Regions from separate parts of the Homo sapiens genome. Here region 2 is linked to region 1. The links are contacts of gene promoters, found by promoter capture Hi-C in blood cells and fetal thymus (Javierre and others, 2016). All regions are on one chromosome and are shown on one strand. Each heading gives the region's core, a stretch centred on a gene start or on the middle of the fragment in contact. The rest is flanking DNA. Distances are from core to core; before and after follow the strand shown.

Region 1 (3,232 bases), core at 98-2,597:
ATAAAATAAAATAAAATAAAATAATGTCATAGGACAGGGATTAGCAATTTTTTTTTTCTGAAAAACCCAGATGTTGTGGCCTCTGCAGGACTTAAGGTGTCTGTTGAAACTACGCAGTTCTATTGGTGTAGCCCAAAAGCAGCTGTTCACAATCTCCAAATAAGTGAGCACGGCCATGTTCCAATAACACTTTATTTTGTATTATTATTTTTTAAATAGAGATGGGGATCTCACTATAGCTGGTCTCGAGCTCCTGGCTCAATGGATCTGCCCACCTCGGCCTCCCAAAGTGCTGGGATTACAGGCATGAGTCACCACAGCCGGCCTTAATTCTCTTTAAAATGTTACAAGTGAAGAGGAGGAGTGATATTTCATTTCCTTCTCTTTCCTGGCAGCTTTTCCTTAGACTATGCTACAATGAAGACAATTACTTCTTTTTATGTTTTTATTCTTTTATTTTTTTATTGAGACAGAGTCTCGCTATGTTGCCCAGGCTGGAGTGCAGTGACACAATCTCGGCTCACTGCCAACCTCTGCCGCCCAGGTTCAAGCAATTCACATGCCTCAGCCTCCTGAGTAGCTGGGATTATAGGCACGTGCCACCACGCCCATCTAATTTTTTTGTATTTTTAGTAGAGATGGGGTTTCCCCATATTGACCAAGGCTGGTCTTGAACTCCTGACCTCGTGATCCACCCGCCTTGGCCTCCCAAAGCGTTGGGATTACAGGCATGAGCCAGCGCCCCCGGCCTGACAATTCCTTAGCAATGTACATTTCGGGTTACTTTTACGGTAAGGAAAAAAATGTGACAAATTTAAAAGATCAAGAAAATAACCCTTTCTCCTGGCCTTCCCAAACAACTTGGTCGGCTACAGGATTTGACTTAGAGCCAAGCTCTTCCATCACCCACCTGGGCTCCCCCAGATCACACTCATCTGTGCTGGATTTCACCAGCTCTCGGTTGATGGAGGTCCCCACGCTCCCTGCTCCTCCTCCTCCGTCTGCCCTACATCCCTCCTGCTTCTCCAGGGAACCACAGATCTCGATGCCAATTTGGATCAACTTATTTCTGTCTTTCAGGGAGCTGACTGTGGAGGAAGGGCTGCAACAAACCAGGGGCCTGGATTGTGACATACTTACAGCCACGAAGCCATTGAGTAAAGATAACAGTTTCTTCAAGGAAGAATACGGAGTGTGGATTTCAGCCATGCTGAACAGACTGGGGCACCCTGAACATTTAAGTTAACATCTTCCTGAACCTCTGGGCTACTGTTTCCCAAGATGATAGGGATCTGAGGAAGGGGCGCCAATGCTGACTTGCTCTGCCCCTCTGTGTCCTGGCTGCCTGATGGTTGTCCAAGGCGGCCCAGCAGCTGCCCCCTGCCCTGGTCATAAGCCTTTTATCACATCACAATTGGGTTCTGGAGCAAGGCTCATGGTCCAGGGAAATCAGGTGCCCCAAACTGCCCCCTGTTGGCTCCTCATCCTTCAAACAGGTCACAGCAGGGAAAGAGAACAGGCATGGTATGCTACCCTGGTACCCTCCAGATGCCACCAGGACCCTGTGGGCATAGTGCCCAGAGCTAACCACTTGCACAGTTGACATCTCCTAGTAGACTGGGGGATCCAAGCGGGGGAGGGGGGAACTTGGGCTGTCCTATTAACAGCTGTGACCCCTGCCAGGCGCAGTGGCTCACACCTGTAGTCAAAGCATGTTGGGAGGCGGAGACGGGCGAATCACCTGAGGTCAGGAGTTTGAGACCTACTAACAATACAAACAATACAAAAATTACCTGGGTGTGGTGGCACACGCCTATAATCCCAGCTACTTGGGAGGCTGGGGCAGGAGAATCACTTGAACCCAGGAGGTGGAGGTTGCAGTGATCTGAGGTCGTGCCATTCCACTCCAGCCTGGTTGACGGAGTGAGACTCTGTCTCAAACAAAACAAAACAAAAACAAAAACAGCTGTGTCCCCAAAGCCTGGCACTGCAGTACTTAAGAAACCCGCGGAGAATGAATGAATGGATCCAGAGGCTCTGTGATGCAGAAATCTAGCTACAAGCCACCGGGCCTCCCAAGCCCAAGCCCATACTTGGCCCATCCTTCATACAGGGCTCAGAGAGGCCAAGGGAACTGCCTGAGGCCACACAGGAAGCAAGACCAGGCTTTGAAGCCCCAAGAGTAACATGAGGGCAGGAACCTGTAAGGCAGAGAGTCCTGGAACTGTGAGCCATTGGTCACTGGGTTTTTTTCTTTTGAGACAGGATCTTGCTCCATTGCCCAGGCTGGAGTGCAGTGGTGTGATCATGGCTTACTGCAGCCACGACCTCCCTGGCTCAAGTGATCCTCCCACCTTAGCCTCCCAAGTAGCAGGTCATTGGGCTTTTCTCCATGGTGATAGATGTAGTTAGCATTTCAGGACCAAAAACCTTCTGTATGTCAGCACTGAAGACCTCCAGGCCTAGATCCTGCAGTCTGTAGCCCACTTTGCCCCCATACCTCCCCACCCTAACCATAGCAGCTTCACATTGCCCCACCCCGATCCCCTCTCTGTCCAGCCCTGGGCTGGGGTGTGTCTGGGTCCAGGTCCTGCATGGATTGGGGGAAGGCGGATGGTTCAAATGGGAGAAAATACCTTACACTTTAATTAATTTAATGAATGTCTGTCAAATCGCCTGCTTCTTGGAACATGTAGAACTAAGCAAGATGTTCACAGAGGAGTGCTGTCTCCTCCTGGACCACGGGTGCTGTTCACAGCCAGGAGTGTGTCCTTCCACACCTTTATTTAAGAGGTCATTTGAAGCCAGGCGCGGTGGCTCACGCCAGTAATCCCAGCACTTTGGGAGGCCGAGGTGGGTAGATCACGAGGTCAGGAGATCGAGACCATCCTGGCTAATGCAGTGAAACCCTGTCTCTACTAAAAATACAAAAAATTAGCCGGTTGTGGTGGCGGGTGCCTGCAGTCCCAGCTACTCGGGAGGCTGAGGCAGGAGAATCTCTTGAACCCGGGAGGCGGAGGTTGCAGTGAGCCGAGACCACATCACTGCACTCCAGCCCGGGAGACAGAGGGAGACTCCTCCGTTTCAGGAAAAAAAAAAAAAAAAAAAAAAGGTCATTTGAAGTAAGGAACCTCAGAACCAGGGGCTGAGGGCCTGGAAATGGGGGCACAAAAGAGGGTGATAAATGGGCATGCAAGAGAGCATTGGAAAATGTAGGGGGCAAAGGAGGTCT
Region 2 (3,190 bases), core at 199-2,698, 240 kb before region 1:
CTCCCTGCCCCTCCATCCTTGTCTAGGTCTTATCTCGCTCCTGGCTCGCCCTCCCCCGTCTGTCCCTAGGGTGTCTCAGGCTCCCAGTATCTCTGTCTGCCTCTCCCCCCACCTCCCTGCTTTTCCCTCTCTCCACTGTCCCCCCCCTCCCCCACTCCACTCCCATTTCTCCAGAACCCTCCGCCCAAGCCCAGCCAGGCTCCCAGCCCCTAGGGGACCGGGCTGCCTCTTCTTCTCCCGGGTGAGTGGGGGGAGGTGGGAGGGGCGGCCCCCTCACCTGGCCCTGGCCCTGCCGCCCCCCACGCCACCAGCCCGGCTTTATAAAGCAAACCGGCCCTTATATAGCGTGGCCCGGGCTCCCCGAGGCCGCCTTATAAGGCGCGGCGTCTCTGCGCGGCTCTGCGCGGCTCTGGGGCCGGCGCTGGGGGGGAGGAGGGCGGCGCTGGGATCTGTCTCTCGCCCGAGGACCCGCCCCCCACCAGCCCCCTCCTCCAGCCCCGAGATCCCTCGACCCAGGTTCCAACCCAGTCCCCCACTTCCTCACCATGGGACCCTGGGAAAAGCCACCCTGAGCCTCAGTGTTCCCCTCTGTCAAATGGGGCAGGAACTCCTCCCTCGGCAATACTGTTGGGGCGATTCCAGTGGGCTGGAAACTTAAAGTTCTCCAGCTGGGAGAAGCTGAGCCCATCCTGGTGTATGGGGGGTGAGTCCAGGGTCCGAGCGCTGTACCTGCTTTACCTGGGACCCCAGCTATTTGCCTCTCCTCTCCGAACCTCAGTTTACCCAACCATAGCATGAAGGTGGTGTCCAGGTATCTTCCTAGCTCCACAGTCAGGAGACCCCTGCCGCACTTCTGATGCCCGCTTCCTGCCTTTCACCGTCCCCCTCTGTCTTCAGGATCTCCCACACTTTCACGGCGTCACTTCCCAGGTACCCCAGCACTCAAGCGCTCCCCAATTTCTTTGTCAGGCCGGGGGATATGGAAAAATCAACAAGTCTTCCCCCTATGTTGTTCCCCCCAAGAACACGAAGGGTTAACAGAAGACTGATCAGGTGGGTATCTTTGCAATGGACTGACCCCCTCTGTTTATGTGTGGCTGTGTGCCCCCCCATTCCAGCCCCAACCATAGCTGGGGGCTCCGGGATGTTCAGGGGGAGACAGGCAGCCCCTATCCCATATCACTCCCTTTTCCCCTCTCAGTTTCCAAGTCACATAGGATAGGCAGGAGGGGGTTCAAGGGACCCCAAGCTCAGGGCTCTGGCCTGGCAGGACGTGTGGGCCAGGCCAGGGAGGCCCTCCAGCCCTACCTTGTTCTTAACCTCGGCTGACAGCCCGTAGGCAGGGCCTCGGTTGAAGTGAGCAGAGGACATGCTGGCCGGTGGGCTCTGGCGGGGGCAGTGGCGGCACTGACGCTGAGAACAGAGGCAGCGGCTGAAGTTCCGTCTGCACACTCTTCCCTCCTCACATGTTTTTGAAGCTCCGGAGGCGACCCGGGTCTCTTCCAGGGCCGTTCCATTGGCTGTAGGGGCCTGCCAAGGGGCGGGGCACCTCCCCCCACAACCTCAGCTGCCTTCCCCTCCCCTTGTGATGTCAGGCCCTTGGTATTGGGAGCTGATTGTGTCATTGTTTCCACCTAGGGGGGCAGCCTGCGTTATTCTGGGGGGGCTTGGTCAGACAGAGACCAGCCTTCTTCCACCCACCCCTCCCACTGTCCATTGGGCCTCTGGCTGGGTCTGAGTCTCTTTGTCTCTGAGGTCATCTCTCTTTATCTCTCTGGAGTCTTGAAGCAGGACTGACACCCAAGGTAGTTTAGTGAGCACCATCCCGGGTTTATCTCCAGATACCAACAGTCTATAGCCTTAGGTAAGCCCCTTCTCCTCTCTGGGCCTCTATGGCCACATCTGTAAAATGGGCTAACGATAGTGCCTGCCTCATGGGAGAGTTGTAAAGATCAGAAGAATATGCCTGTTACATGCCCAGCACAGTGCCCGGCACAGCAGAGGGACTCGGGCCATAGCAGTCTTTTTAAGGCAAGGTTTCACTCTGTCCCCTCGGCTGGAGTGCAGTGGCACAATCACAGCTCACTGCAGCCTTGACCTCCCAGGCTCAAGTGATCCTCCCATCTCAGCCCATCCAAGTAGTTAGAATTGCAGACTTGTGCCACCAACCTGGCTAATTTTATTTTATTTTTTTAGAGATGGGGTCTCGCTATGTTGCCCGGGGTCTCGCTATGTTGCCCAGGCTGGTCTCAAATTTCTGGGCTCAAGCAATCTGCCCGCCTTGGCCTCCCAAAACGCTGGGATTTACAGGCATGAGTCACCATGCCCAGCCTATAGCATTCTTTATGCTGAGGGTCCAGCACCCCAGTTCTGTCTCCTCCAGCCCCTCATAAGGACCTGGGGGAGAAGAGATCCTGGGTCTCACCCTCCCCATCCACTTGTGTGTCACCTGAACTACAGGGTGACTTTGTTGGCAAGTCCCAGGCCGTGAACTGTGTCCCTGTCAAACAGCCCTACCCAGCCAGATCTCACCCCTGGACCACAGGGGTGGATGCTATGCCCACATCATGCCCCACATGGCAAGGCCATGTTTGTGACACTTGGATGACATGTCTGCAACCTGCCACACACTAATGATATGTTGAGGATATGCAGTTTATCGGTCACATGCTAATGGCATGGCTGCAATATGCCACAGACTACAGCCCTTATGTCAGGCCATGTTCCAACTCTGTACATATATCCATTCAATTCTCATGACGCCCTCAGAGATGGACACTGTTATTATTATTATTATTATTATTATTATTATTATTTGGAGACAGAGTCTCTATTCCCCAGGCTGGAGTGCAGTGATGCTATCTCGGCTCACTGCAACCTCCACCTCCTGGGTTCAAGCGATTCTCCTGCCTCAGCCTCCCAAGTAGCTGGGATGACAGGTGTCTGCCACCACGACTGGCTATTTTTTGTATTTTTAGTAGAGACGGGGTTTTGCCATGTTAGCCAGGCTGGTCTCGAACTCCTGACCTCAGTTGATCTGCCCACCTCGGCCTTGCAAAGTGCTGGGATTACAGGCGTGAGCCACCGTGCCCAGCTGACACTGTTATTATTAATACAAGTACTTTGCTTTACAGGTGGGGAAACTGAGGCACGGGGGCTTGGAATCACTTTTTCAGCGTCACACAGCAGG

The links. The method cuts DNA at HindIII sites, captures the fragments that hold promoters and counts their contacts. A CHiCAGO score of 5 or more calls a contact.
Region 2: the fragment with the promoter of CNN1 here is called in contact with the fragment with the promoter of TSPAN16 in region 1 in 14 of 17 cell types (neutrophils, M0 macrophages, endothelial precursors and 11 more); the score reaches 14.2 in neutrophils.

What each region holds. Positions count from the first base shown.
Region 1 is chr19:11,294,275-11,297,506 of GRCh38, reverse strand. TSPAN16 (tetraspanin 16) reads right to left here and starts at 1,347. Exons shown (of 7, transcript NM_001282509.2): 1 at 1,141-1,347. The coding sequence starts at 1,209. The HindIII fragment of the contact is 19,527 bases long and covers 1-3,232 here.
Region 2 is chr19:11,537,109-11,540,298 of GRCh38, reverse strand. CNN1 (calponin 1) reads right to left here and starts at 1,448. Exons shown (of 7, transcript NM_001299.6): 1 at 1,309-1,448. The coding sequence starts at 1,371. RefSeq lists a silencer at 423-472 and an enhancer at 1,532-2,477. The HindIII fragment of the contact is 23,519 bases long and covers 1-3,190 here.